Regions from separate parts of the Homo sapiens genome. Here all the other regions are linked to region 1. The links are contacts of gene promoters, found by promoter capture Hi-C in blood cells and fetal thymus (Javierre and others, 2016). All regions are on one chromosome and are shown on one strand. Each heading gives the region's core, a stretch centred on a gene start or on the middle of the fragment in contact. The rest is flanking DNA. Distances are from core to core; before and after follow the strand shown.

The links. The method cuts DNA at HindIII sites, captures the fragments that hold promoters and counts their contacts. A CHiCAGO score of 5 or more calls a contact.
Region 2: a contact is called between a fragment that was not itself captured here and the fragment with the promoter of ANKEF1 in region 1, in 2 of 17 cell types (non-activated CD4 T cells and naive CD8 T cells). The highest score is 5.4, in non-activated CD4 T cells.
Region 3: a fragment that was not itself captured here is called in contact with the fragment with the promoter of ANKEF1 in region 1 in 3 of 17 cell types (naive CD8 T cells, total CD8 T cells and total CD4 T cells); the score reaches 7.7 in naive CD8 T cells.

Annotation. Positions count from the first base shown.
Region 1 is chr20:10,032,388-10,036,913 of GRCh38, forward strand. It overlaps ANKEF1 (ankyrin repeat and EF-hand domain containing 1), which reads left to right and starts at 2,600. Exons shown (of 11, transcript NM_022096.6): 1 at 2,600-2,946; 2 at 3,192-3,255. All of the region lies in intron 3 of SNAP25-AS1 (SNAP25 antisense RNA 1), which reads right to left. RefSeq lists a silencer at 2,391-2,940. The HindIII fragment of the contact is 1,358 bases long and covers 2,008-3,365 here.
Region 2 is chr20:10,574,903-10,579,428 of GRCh38, forward strand. All of the region lies in intron 4 of SLX4IP (SLX4 interacting protein), which reads left to right. Among named protein-coding and RNA genes, the nearest start is that of MIR6870, 73 kb to the right of the region's middle. RefSeq lists silencers at 3,699-3,993, 3,726-3,926. The HindIII fragment of the contact is 685 bases long and covers 2,172-2,856 here.
Region 3 is chr20:10,553,903-10,558,428 of GRCh38, forward strand. It overlaps SLX4IP (SLX4 interacting protein), which reads left to right. Exons shown (of 8, transcript NM_001009608.3): 3 at 2,329-2,418. Among named protein-coding and RNA genes, the nearest start is that of MIR6870, 94 kb to the right of the region's middle. The HindIII fragment of the contact is 6,035 bases long and covers 1-4,526 here.

The sequences.
Region 1 (4,526 bases), core at 1,350-3,849:
GCTCAGGGATTGTAAACGCACCAATCAGCGCCCTGTCAAAACAGAGGACTCGGCTCTACCAATCAGCAGGATGTGGGTGGGGCCAGATAAGAGCATAAAAGCAGGCTGCCTGAGCCAGCAGTGGCAACCCGCTTGGGTTCCCTTCCACACTGTGGAAGGTTTGTTCTTTCACTGTTTGCAATAAATCTTGCTGCTGCTCACTCTTGGGGTCCACACTGCTTTTATGAGCTGTAACACTCACTGCGAAGGTCTGCAGCTTCACTCCTGAAGCCAGCGAGACCACGAGCCCACCAGGAGGAACCAACAACTCCAGAAGCGCCGCCTTAAGAGCTGTAACACTCACCGTGAAGGTCTGCAGCTTCACTCCTGAGCCAGCGAGACCACGAACCCACCAGAAGGAAGAAACTCCGAACACATCCGAACATCAGAAGGAACAAACTCCAGATGCGCCACATTAAGAGCTGTAACACTCACCGCGAGGGTCCCTGGCTTCATTCTTGAAGTCAGTGAGACCAAGAACCCACCAATTTTGGACACAGTTTGACAATAAATTTACACTCAAATATCTCTAAGGAATCAAACTTACAGATTAATAATTAGTAATCAGGTCACGTAAAGTAAATTATAAAAGAGCATTGATACCAAGATTGGCAGAAAGTTTTTTGTGTGACAAAACCAAGTTTTGGCTAAGATACACACTGCTGATGGGAGTCTAAATTGCTGTATATGTCGGGAAAACAAGTTGTCTTTATCTTGATGTTATAAATAACCTATGACCCAGAAATTTAACTCCTAGACATATACTCTAGTGAAACTCTTGAACGTGTGCGTCCAAAGACATTTATAAACATGATCTTAGTAGTATTGCTTTTAGTAGCAAATTCTGGAAACATCCCAAATGTCTATCAATAGTGGAATTGATTTGAAAGGGGTGTGGAATGGTAATATAATGGAATAGCCTACAGCTGTTTAGATAAAGGAACTCCAATTAAACATACCAACAAAGATACATTTCAAAAACAAGACGTTGAAAGGAAAAAAGTCATCAAAACAATACACAACATTCTACCACATTTTTATAAATTCTCAAAATATGCAATATTAAACATGCATTATTTAGGGAGGCATTCAATGTAGCAATGCATTTTTAAGAGGCTGGGATGATAAATGTAAAATTCAGAACAGGTATTATCTCTGGGAACAGGAAGAGGAGGATGCAGTGTTGGGAAGAAATACATATAAGTACAGCAGTAGAGGCAGACTTTTTTTTCCTTTTCCTTTTTCCTTTATTTTTCCTAGCTTTCTTTTTCTTTAGCTATGGTATTTCTTTAGCTATGGTATGGTATGGTATGTACTTTCCATATATCATACAGTATATTTTGGTGTGCATGAAATAGTCCTTAATAACATTTTTATTATTTTTTATTTGACGTTTAAGTTCAGGGGTACATGTGCAGATTTGTTATATAGGTAAACTTGTGTCATGTGGTTTTGTTGCACAAATTATTTTCTCACCCAGGTATTAAGATTAGTACCCATTAGTTATTTCTCTTGATCCTCTCCCTCCTCCCACTCTCCACCTTCTACCCTCCAATAGGCCCCAGTGTGTGCTGTTCCCCTCTATGTGTCCATGTGTTCTCATCACTTAGCTCTCACTCATAAGTGAGAACATGCAGTATTGGGTTTTCTGTTTCTGCGTTAGCTTGCCAAGGATAATTGCCTCCAGCTCCATATTCCTGCAAAAGACATAATTTTGTTCCTTTATATGGTTGCATAGTATTCCATGGTGTATATGTACCGCATTATCTTTAGCCAGTCTATCATTGATGAGCACTTAGGTTGATTCCATGTCTTCGCTCTTAACATTTTTAAACAGTCTCTGAGTAGAATAGGGTAGGCTGGTGTAAGGAATTACTGTTTTTAATTGGAAGCAATTACATACTGCATTAAAAAGCATATATATATAGACACACATATATATGTTTTACATTCACATAATCAAACCAAAGCTTTCAGAATTTTCCGCCAAAAAGCATGTGTGGAGGGAGAGAGAGGGGTGTTATGGTGCATTTGTAGGCCCTGAAATAAAGTGATCTCCATATTTGCTTCCATTTGTGTATAAATATTTTTTAAGCATATATGCATCCTAGAGTATGGAAAGAAAATTTCTGGGAAGATTTGCAAGAATCTGTGGCAGTTGAGAGTAGGTTCACTTTCGCTTTATTGTGTAATTTATTGTATTTTTCATTTAATTGTACTTTGTAAACTAAATATTTATTGTATATTTTACTTCATTTTTTAATTGCCATATGCAGCTTTAATTTTATAACTAAATTACGTTCTGACCCAGGGCAGGAGGTGGGAGAAGAGAATGAGAGAAGGGCGGAATCCTCAAGACAGCAGCATTCTGCGCTCCGCCCTGGAACACCCAGCGCAGCTACCCCATCCCGCCCAGGCCGGCCACCTGGCGTCGAAGCCAGGCGCGAGGGGCGGAGGCGGAGGCGGGGGCGGGGGCGGAGGCGGAGGCGGAGGCGGAGGCGGAGGCGGAGGCGGAGGCGGAGGCGGAGGCGAGCACCGCCCCACCGCGCACGCTGCGGTTGCCCCGGCAGCCGCGCCCTGCGTGGCGGAAGCTCACAATCAGCCCGGTCCCTCCGGCTTCCACCCCGCCCCCTGCGCTCACCTGCCCGCGCGCTCGCCTTCCGGGGACCCGGGGCCCATGGACACATACACCCAGCCCTGCTGTCCCGCGCGCCAGCTCACCAGCCCTACCCAAGGGACATCATTCACGCCTGGGCGCCTCCGCCGGGCTCCGGGAGCCCAAGGTCGCGGCTGGGCCAGCGCTGAGCGTCAGAGGACGAGAGCAGGGGCCTCCCCGGTCGCCCCAGCAGGCCCAGGCACATAGGTGCCCAGAGATCCCTGGCTTCTGATCGCCCGGAAGACTAAGAGGTGAGCATGACACATGGCTTTTCCTTTGACGTTACATCTCTACCCCCTCCACTCCTCTCTTCTCCAGATTTTTCTGGAGACTAAAAAGTGGAAAGCACAGTAGAGAACCCCCAACATGTAAACTATCGCTTACACTTGTGGGTGAGCTGAAACCCGCAAAAGTTTGGTGTATTCATAAGGAGCCTATATTGAAGGACTTTGCTAAATGTTTTACAAGGATCATATCTCATTTCCTTTTCACACAGTCCCATGAAGTGGGCACCATTGCTATTGCCAGTTCACAGATGCAGAAACTGAGGTAAAAACTAGGTAGGTAGCATATCCATATTTATATCCAACTAGTTTGTGTAAATAATGATACAGGGAAGGGAGGATCACAACGGATTTCCCCACCTCAAACCCTACATTCCACTGTACCAAGCTTGTCTTCCTCCATTCCTCTTTCTAATGATCCTTCCTTGTCGCACAGCCCCCCTTTGAGAGTTAAATGACCTGAACACACACAGATTCCCACAGATTTTCATGTAATTTCCGAGTATTCAGACCCCGAACATGGACCTCAAGTCAAGACATTCTGCTCTATTCCACTACCTTGGTAGATGGTTAGATGTGACTAAGGTGGCCCAGGGTCATGCTGGGGAAAAGTACAGGTGTGCTTGTATGTGGAGGATCCTATATGCTGCTCAATTTACAAGGAACCCAGGACCCAAGGGCTACACTTGTGTGATTTCCTGCAGTGGGGTGAGCTCTTGGTCAGTCTTAGCAGTTGATTGTGAAGGACACTATACAGGGTGCTGCCCTCTCCCCAGCACTTCAGGGCTTTAGCTGGGAGGGAGGCAGTCCACAGGAAACCGACCCATGGACCTACTGAATTCATCACTGTAGCTGCTAATTAATTCTCCGTTAGAGATGGGTGCTAACAGAGGCAACATTGAAGTCCCTGATTGGGAAATCCTTATTTTCACAAATCAAGTGGCATTGATTCAGTCTAATCATTACCTATGTAGGAGCATCTTGCCCTATTCCATAGATGACACATATACATATGCAGTATGATGACACCGCACCTAATCGGAATATGGCCGATAATAATAAAACAAGCCATAAATAGCAGCTAAGGTGAGTGTCACCAAGCCGTGCAGCAAAGTCCAAGTGGATGACTCTGAGGCAGCCTCAGTTGGTTCCCTAGTCCACCGCATGTTATAAACAGATTAAAAGGCAAAGGAGGCCTGGCCCGGTGGCTCACGCCTGTAGTCCCAACACTTTGGGAGGCTGAGGCGGGTGGATCACCTGAGGTCAAGAGTTCAAGATCAGCCTGGCCAACATGGTGAAACCCTGTCTTTACTAAAAATACAAAAATTAGCCAGGTGTGGTGGTGGGCACCTGTAATCCCAGCTACTCGGGAGGCTGAGGCAGGAGAATCGCTTGAACCCAGGAGGTGGAGGTTGCAGTGAGCCGAGATTGTGCCACTACACTCCAGCCTGGGTGACAGAGTGAGAGTTGGGCTGAGGGTCGAGGGTCATGGGATAGGGCGAGACACCAGGGGAGTGTGTGAGGACAGAAAAGAGTCTTGAGGACCT
Region 2 (4,526 bases), core at 1,264-3,763, 540 kb after region 1:
TCTCAGGTTATCCACCCGCCTTGGCCTCCAAAAGTGCTGGGATTACAGACGTGAGCCACCGTGCCTGACCGCAAGACTTTTTTTTAATGAGTTGTTCCAGTTAGCTCAGAGCCCTGCCCTCTCATTAGCTCCATGAAGACTGATGACTTATTACTACATATTCCAAAGACAGGTCCCCACTGGGGTCAGGTAGAACTGGTTGGCATTCCTGCCCCACTAGGAGTAGGAGGAAAAGTAATAGGAAGGAAAATCACTTGCCCTTAAATTGATGTGGGGTGAGATTAAAAACATTTCTTTTGGTGATCTGTTCGGTCACAGTATTTCTAACGATGACAACTGGATGGGAGGCCTGTAGTTCCATTTTACCCAGCAGAAGAGAACAGTCCTGACCCAGTGAAAGTCATTTATTCCAGCATGTTGGGAACATAGTACCTGGGGCACTGGTTTTATATTGTCTGAACGGTTTAGCTGCCACATAGCATTGGGTAATAATGTATTGGGGTGAGGGCTGGGGCATACAGGGAGACAGTGAGACCCCTACAAGGCTGTACTTTCCTTTGACACATTCCAGGTGAAGTCTTAGAAGGCAGCAACTTCTCCTGTGTTTGACAGATAATAATAATCAGGAAAGCTCTCCCTACCCCCCACCCCCAATATAACAGTGGCTGCTTCTCATAGGAGTAACATACATATTTTTAATATGTAGGATGACAAGGTATAGTGGGAACTGTTTACCTTAGCATGTACTGTTTGTTTCTCAAGAATTTCAGGTCCATTACACCTTAGCAATGAAAAGCCTTCTCTTATCTAGGAAGTACTTGTAGCATTCACCAGCTTGTCTGTTCCTTTTAATTTTTTTTTTTTCCTTTGGCCAGGACCTCCCATCATAATGCCCGGATTTTCAAATTTCTAGTAATTGAGTTTCACATTCCTAATATTAACACCCATAAGGAAGCTGGAAGGAGAAAATGGATACTAGTTATCTTACCGACTAAATATCAGTAAGAGCCCTTTGATTTTGAAGTGTTTGAAGGATGAGTGAAGAGGCCTTGTTTAGGATAGTACACTGTGGTCTAACACATTGGGACCGTGATTTGCTACCTGAATATCTTGGGAATTTGGGGGATTCTAACCCAAGTGTTGATTAAAAACAAGAGAGCTTTCATTTTCAAATTCCCTAACATGACACCCTAATTATTCTAATTATTTGGAATAAAAGTGGATAACCTACAATTGTGAAGTTTTATGGTTACTAAATATTTTAGTTAACCACTTCAGTTGTTCATGATCAAAATAATTTTATATTCATTATAATACCTTCTATAAACTGGGCAGGGGAATTGACTCCCTTTGGTACGATAGACATTTATACTGTCTCTAAGTGAATTTGCCACAGATTCAGAGTGAGGTGCTTATTTGTGAAGCATTAAGAATCCCTGGGCTGTTCCCAGGGAGTTGAGTAGAGGCATGGTGAATAACTGTTCAGGTACACCTAATTGTATAGCTTGTTTATATTTGTTGTTGTACCACAATGCCCTTATTACTTAGAGCATAAACTCCAATCAGATTCACATTTATTTTAATTATTTGATCATGAACCACATAACCTAATGGGAAACTTGGCCTGATCTGTTTTGTGAAATGTCTTGAGAAAATTATCCATGCCTACATTAAGCAAAAACAAAACTAACTCCACATGATCTCACGCATAAAAAATGAATGCCTGGAAAAGATGCTAGTTTTAAGTTTTAGGCCAAGATTGAATTTCAATTCTGGGTCATAGATTAATGTATGTGTCCAAGTAAATGTGTATATTTGTGTGTTTGTGTGTGTGTATGTAATGAATGAATAGATAAGTATATACCCACAATATAAGTTGCTGCTAAAGAAAATAAAAGTTATAAGACCTGAAAGGGGACACCAAAAATATGATTTCCTTACAAATATTTTCAGGAATTTTACTTAATTGCAACCAGAAGTCTGACCTGGAAGTGTAGTGTTTTGACCCCCCTAGCTGTCTGGTTTCCTATTTGCGGTGTTTTTTTTCTCCCCCAACTGTGAGAAAATATATTTTACACAGTTTTAACCCTGTGTATTCTTAGAAACACTGAAATAGAAAGTATTCCTCTGCGGGGAAGAAATTCTCATTATTTACAAGAATGATTTGCAAAAGCTTCACTTAAATAGAAAATATTTTTTAAAAACTTAACAAATCCTTATTAGATATATTTGAAAATAAAACAGCTTCTTGGTTGCCCTTCAAGGTAGTGTGAACTTCTAGAAGACTGAGATTTTTGTATTGTTTAAGTTTACCCTTATTTTAGTAAAATACTAGTGTTTTCATAACAAAAGTGTACAGAATTTATAAATAATGCCCTTATGATGAGGGTTTTTCATGCTTTCCCCCCTTCATTTTTAGCTTATTCAATCTTTTTTTCCTCTAGCTTTTTATAAAAGTGAAAATTAGGCTGAGTAAACTTAGGAAGGCTGTAGTACTATATAGTATTCTAATGAACTGAAAGATAACAATAAGGCCTGGCATGATGGCTCACTCTTTTAATCCCAACACTTTGGAGACCAAGGCAGAAGGATTGCTTGAGACCAGAAGTTCAAGATCTACCTGGGCAACATAACAAGGTTCTGTCTCTACAAAAAAACATAAAAATAAATTAGTTGGGTGTGACAGCACGTACCTCTAGTCCTAGCTGCTCAGGAGGCTGAGGCAGGAGAATGGCTTGAGCCCAGGAATTCGAGGCTGCCGTGATCTATGATCATACCACTGTACTCCAGCTGAGGCAACAGAGAAAGACCCTGTCTCTTTAATGATAATAAGAAATGAATGAATGACAACAATGAAGCTTAATTAGGATGACTGTAGGGCCAGGAAGCCTACTGTTGGAAAATTATAGAATTCACCATCAAATACTCATAGATTGATTTGCTGAATCAGTCAAAATGATGAGAAACATTGTTTCCATATTTCCATTGTAGCCTCTTGTTGTTTACCAGTGTGGTGGAATAATTATATATCTCGTTTTTTAAATCTCAGACATTTTCACTTACAGGAAAGCCTCATTCTTCCTAACTATTTAGTTGAGAGATTTAAAAATGAGGAACACAGTTGTCAACAATCCATTTAGCTGAAGAATACTTCTCATTTTTTTAATAACAGCTTTATTGAGATATAATTCATATACAATTCACCTGTTTAAAGTATACTGTTCAATGGTTTTTATGTATTCAGAGTTGTGTAACCATCACCAGAATCAATTTGAGAACATTTTCATCACTCCAAAAGAAACCCTTTACCCATTAGCAGTTACTCTTCATTTTCCCCAATACCCCAGCCACAGACAACCAACCACCAGCTTACTTTCTGTCTCTATGGATTTGCCTGTTCTGGACATTTCATACAAATAGAGTCATACACCATGTGGTTCTCTGTAACTGGCTTCTTTCACTCAGCATAATGTTTTCAAGATTCGTTCATTTTATAACACATATCAGTAGTACTTTATTTCATTTTATTACAAATAATGTTCCATGGTATGGATCTATCATATTTTGTCCATTCATCAATTGATGGACATTTGGGTTGTTAACCACATTTGGCTATGATGAATAATGCTACTATGGGTATTCGTGTACAAGTTTTTGAGTGGACATATGTTTTCATTTCTCATGGCTATATACCTACGAATGGAATTTCTGGGTCATTCTGTACCTGTATGTTTAACATATTGACGAACTTCCAGACTGTTTTCCAAGTAGCTGCAGCATTTTCTGTTCCTGCCAGCAGTGTATGAGGCTTCTATTTTCTCCACATCCTTAGCCACACCTGTTTGTCTTTTTGACTATAGCTGTCCTGTGTGTATGAAGTGTTATCTCATTGTGGTTTTGATTCCATTTCCCTGATGACTAATAATGTTACCATCTATTCAAGTACTTACTGGCCGTTTGTATATCTTCTGTGGATAAATGTTTGTTCAGGATTTGAACCCATTTTTAATTGGGTTATTAGTCTTTTTATTGAGTTATGGGAATTCTTTTAAACATTCTAGATATAAGTCCCTTATCAGCTATATGATTTATAACATTTTTCTTCTCTTCTGTGGATTTTCTTTTCATTTTCTTGATGGTGGCCTTTGATACCCAAAAGTTTTTAATTTTAATGATGTCCAATTCATCTATGTTGTTGTTGTTGTGCTTTTGATATCATATCTAAGAAACCATTGCCCTATCCAAGGTAATAAAAATGTACATCTATTTTTTAAGGAGTTTTATAGTTTTAGCTCTTACATTCAGGTCTTTGATGCATTTTGAGTTAATTTCATATATGACATGAGTTAGGGGTCCAACTTTATTCTTTTGCATGTGGATATCCAGTTGTCCAAGTACCTTTTGTTGAAAAGACTATTCTATCCTCATTTAATTTTCTTGGCACCTTTGTTGAAAATCAGTTGACAATAAATGTGAGTGTTTATTTCTGGACTCTCAATTCTGTTTCTTTTTTTTCTTTTCTTTTT
Region 3 (4,526 bases), core at 669-3,168, 520 kb after region 1:
TGGGTCTCCCACACATTTTCAGGGACGTAATACCTACATTTTAAATAACTGCCAACAAGTATGAGTGCATTTTACACAGTGTTTAAAAATTGTTTATTATTGATGTATAATTTAAATATAGTGAAAGGAACTGATTGCAGTGTATACATAACATACCCCATCAAGATACAGAATAGTCTTATCACATACAAAGTTCCTTTGTGACAGTTCTCACCCAGTTTTTTACCCCCCTGGGAAATTACTGTTTTGATTCCTTTCATCACACGTTGATTTTGCTGTTTTAGAATTATATATAGATGGAACCATACAGTATATGTTATTTTGGTCTGGTTTCTTTTGCTCAACCTAATGTTTTTGAGATGAATACATGTTGAGTCTATCGGTAGTGTGGTGAGTAGTGTTCCCTTGCATGAATATGGCACAATTTGTTCTCTTGTTGTAGACTTTTGGGTTGTCTTCACGTTGGGTTATTATAAATAAAACTTCCATGAATATTTGCATACAAGTCTTTGTGTGCACATATACTTCATCTCTCTTGAGTAAACACCTGGGAAGGAATCATTGGCTCAGTTGATAAGTAAATGTACGTTTAGCTACAGGAAACTGACAAACCCATTTGCCAGAGTGGTTAGACCATCTTACATTTCCACTGGGAAAGTATGAGAGTCTGGGTTGTTCCATATCCTTACCAACATTTCATGTTATGTCAGTCTTTTTAACTGTAGTCATTCTGGTGGGTATTGTAGTTGTATCTCTTGGTGGTTTTAATTTTAATTTGCCTGATGACTAATGATATTGAACACTTTTTTCATTTTCTTATTAGCCATTCATTTATCCTATTTGTGAAGTGTCTATTCAAACTCAGGTTTTTTGTTTTGCTTTTTTTAAAAATATCAGTTTGTAGGAGTTCTTTACATATTTTGGGTACCAGTCCTTTTTGCCAGATACATGTATTTTTGAATACATAAATACATTTCTCCCAGTCTGTAACATACCTATTTATTTTATTAGTGGTGCTTTTTTCGTTAACAGAAATTTTTAATTTTGAAAATTTAACAATTTTACAACTATTTTTCTCAATATTTGGTGCTTTCTGGATCCTAAGAAATCTTTTCCTATTCCAAAGATCAGGAAGATAGTTTTGGCTTTTTTGTCTAGGTGTGTGATCCATCTCAAATTAAATTTTGTATATAGCGTGAGGTAGGTGTCAAGTTTCACTTTATATTTACATCTGATGGTCTAACCATTTGTTGAAACTACTTTCCTTTCACTGTTGATATATAGGACAGAATTTAAAAAAAAAAAAACAAAACTGTCCAGCCAAGGAAGTGAAAAAACTGAACCTCTGAGTCTCATAAACCGAATCTCTGGGTCTCTCAGACCATCCCCAACCTTGGTGTCCCATTCCTTACCAAATTAGTTTGTTCACAGTTATCTTGTGATTCTCAGAAATTACTTCACTCATATGTGAGGATTTATAAGGCAACAACTTTTCACAGGGTCTGTAACTGTGCTATCCAGTATGGAACCACTAGCTACATGTAGCTACTTAAATTTAATTTAAATTTTATTAAAAATGTAGCTTATCAGTTACAATAGCCACATTTTAAGTGCTCAGCAGCCACATATGGCCACATACGGCCACATATGGCTATCTTATTGAACAGCATATATATAGAATATTTCCATTATTTTCTAAAGTGCTGGACAGCGCTAGCCTATAGAATAAGAACAGAGTCAGGCTTTGTACAGTTTTGTAGCATACTTTAATGAATTTTGTTTTGTTTTGTTAACTAGCATTCAGTATGTATCTTTATCTTCTTGCTTATTTCTCATTCTTCCATGTTCCTATTTCAATTCCAAAGTGTACCGTCCTAGCCAATCCTTTTGTCCGTCTAAAAATGCAGTATCTTATATCTGTTATTTGCTGCTTAGAAGAAAGAATTCCCCTGGCTGTGCATGGAATCATTCTTTTGTGGAGCCTACCTAGTACTGACCTATTTAACTTCTCTCGATGCTTCACGTCTTCCAACTGCTGCCGGGATGCTTGGACATCCCCTTTCAAGGTGCAGCCCAGAGACAGATATTTTGTCTTTCCTGTCTTGATTAACATTGCATCTCTCCTTAGCATTTCCACTGTAAATGTTAAACTTAGGGAAAGTAGTAGATTATGACCTGTAACCATGTTCTTTATTAAAAGTTCTGTCTAGTAGTGAACTTTGTTGCCATTTCATCATGAGCAACCACATAGGAATTTGTGAGATTTTCTCTCATTGTTTGCTGGGCATGAGCCGCACAGACACTGACTCTGCCATTAATGTCTTTCAGTGTGGGAATTTTGCTGTCCTCGTGGATCTTCATATCTTGCCACAAGGTTCAAACAAAGATACAAGCTGGTTTTCTGAACAGAAGAAAGAGGTACAACAAAACTTTCTACTATTTAATTGCAAGTAGCTGCTGCTGCTATAAGAAATATCAGCTCTTTCCAGCTTTCATTTCTGTTAGTGGGAAAAAAATGTTGCGTATTTAATCCTTGAAAAACAATTGTATTCCCAATGACAGACACATATGCACCCACTTTTTTTTTCCTTCAGAAACTGACACATTCATAAACTTCATATGATACTGTATTATTTAAACCAGACATTTTATACCTCTTTGTTTTGGGGGAAGGATTTCTATATATTCAAAAAGAGGAGAAGAAGAAGAAGAAGTTAAAGTGACTATTTCAGTAATCAGGGATTTTAACCTGACTGGTTGTGAAGGATGGCCTGAGCACCTGAAGCAGGTGTGGCAGTTAACACAAGGCTGAACCTTCACACCCATCTTAAAGCCTCAGCTTTTATTTTCTATCATCCTTGTATTATCATGAGCCTTTGACAAGTCAGGAAATACTTGACGGTGTTCCTTCTCACAATGGTCAGTCAGGAAAGCCAGTAGCCGGGGGCTTAGCAGAGCATGATGCTGGACTTCACTGAGCCTCAGCCTCCTCATCTGAAAGTGAAGAGGTTTGCCTAGATGCCAAATTCACTCCTGGTTCTAAGTTTCAACAATCCCACCCAAGTGCTGCTTGTGGTGGAGGCTTACAAGCTGCACTGAGCTCTCACCATTGCTTTGCCTCCTTCTCTGATCCCTGCTCACCAGAGAGCAGGAGTAACCAGCTTGTGGCTTTTACACACCTTTAAAAATATCATTATCCGTGATGTCCATTTACCACAGTTGCTTTTTAGACTGAGAAATAAAAATCAGATTTGTTAAAATATAGTATATGGCGAAGAAACTATTGACAGTGGTGAAAAAACAAAAAGCCACCCTTTTCTGTGATAATTGCTTTTAATTAGCTTTTGGAGCTCACTAGAAAAAAGATCCCCACCCCCCAAAAAAGATTTTATAGGATAATACATTTTCATTCAAAGGATAATATTATCAAGACTTTGCTGTCATTATTTTGCAAAGAATACCTGGTGACCTAAAGCTGAGAAAAGGAAGGCACAAGGTTCTGTATGGTGGGATTTATCATTCAGGTAAATAACTGTGGACTCTTCTCTTCAGGACTTTTAAATATTTAGCAAGTCAATCAACATCTCCTACTGCCACTTACCTTCATATAATTCCACTCCTAGCTTACTAACGCATGTTGCTGTGATTCAAAACTGTTCACTCGTTTCCCCAAAGTGACCAATAGTCACCCAAGGGGACCTCACCCCAAAATCTTCTGACTTGACTTAAATTAACAATGTTATGGAATCCACCATTCCAGGCCTGTTCTCCATTCCCTTTCGGCTTTGCCACCTTAGACCTTTATCGGCCTTAGACCTTTCTTGTTAATATTGAGTCCGTTTTGCCCAAGATTCAGTTAATTTGGAATGCTTTAGAATAAAGCCCTGGGTGTGTGAATCACCTCATAGCCAAAGCGTGAGGCTAGGTTTTTGTTTTTTTAGGAGCCACATGCAGCTGCGTGGATGCTCATAGTACCTACTTGAGGGCAGCAGGGCATGACTTAGCAAAGCTGTGCAGTGCATGACAGGACCTGCAGAGCAGTGCTGCACTGGCAGCTGCAAGGGGCAGGTCGCTGTAGCAGGCTGAGCTTGCCTCTCAAAACCAAATGGTCGGTTTGCTGCTGCTTCTTTAATTTGCCCTTTTAAAATGTATATTGGCCAGGTGCAGTGACACACACCTGTAATCCCAGCACTTTGGGAGCCCAAGGCAGGCGGATTGCCTGAGTCTAGGAGTTCAAGACCAGCCTGGGCAACATGGTGAACCCCCATCTCTATAAAAAGTATAAAAATTAGCCAGATGTGGTGGCTTGTGTCTGGAATCCCAGCTACTCTGGAGGCTGAGGTGGGGGGATCACTTGAGCCCAGGAGGTTAAGGCTGCAGTGAGAGTTGTGATCATGCCACTGAACTCCACCATGGGTGGCAGAGTGAGACCCTGTCTCAAAAAAAAAAAAAAAAAAAAACAATTCGCTGATGTTAAAATTCCTCTGGGATCATTTGTGTGTGCGTAAGAAAGGAGAAAAGCTAGT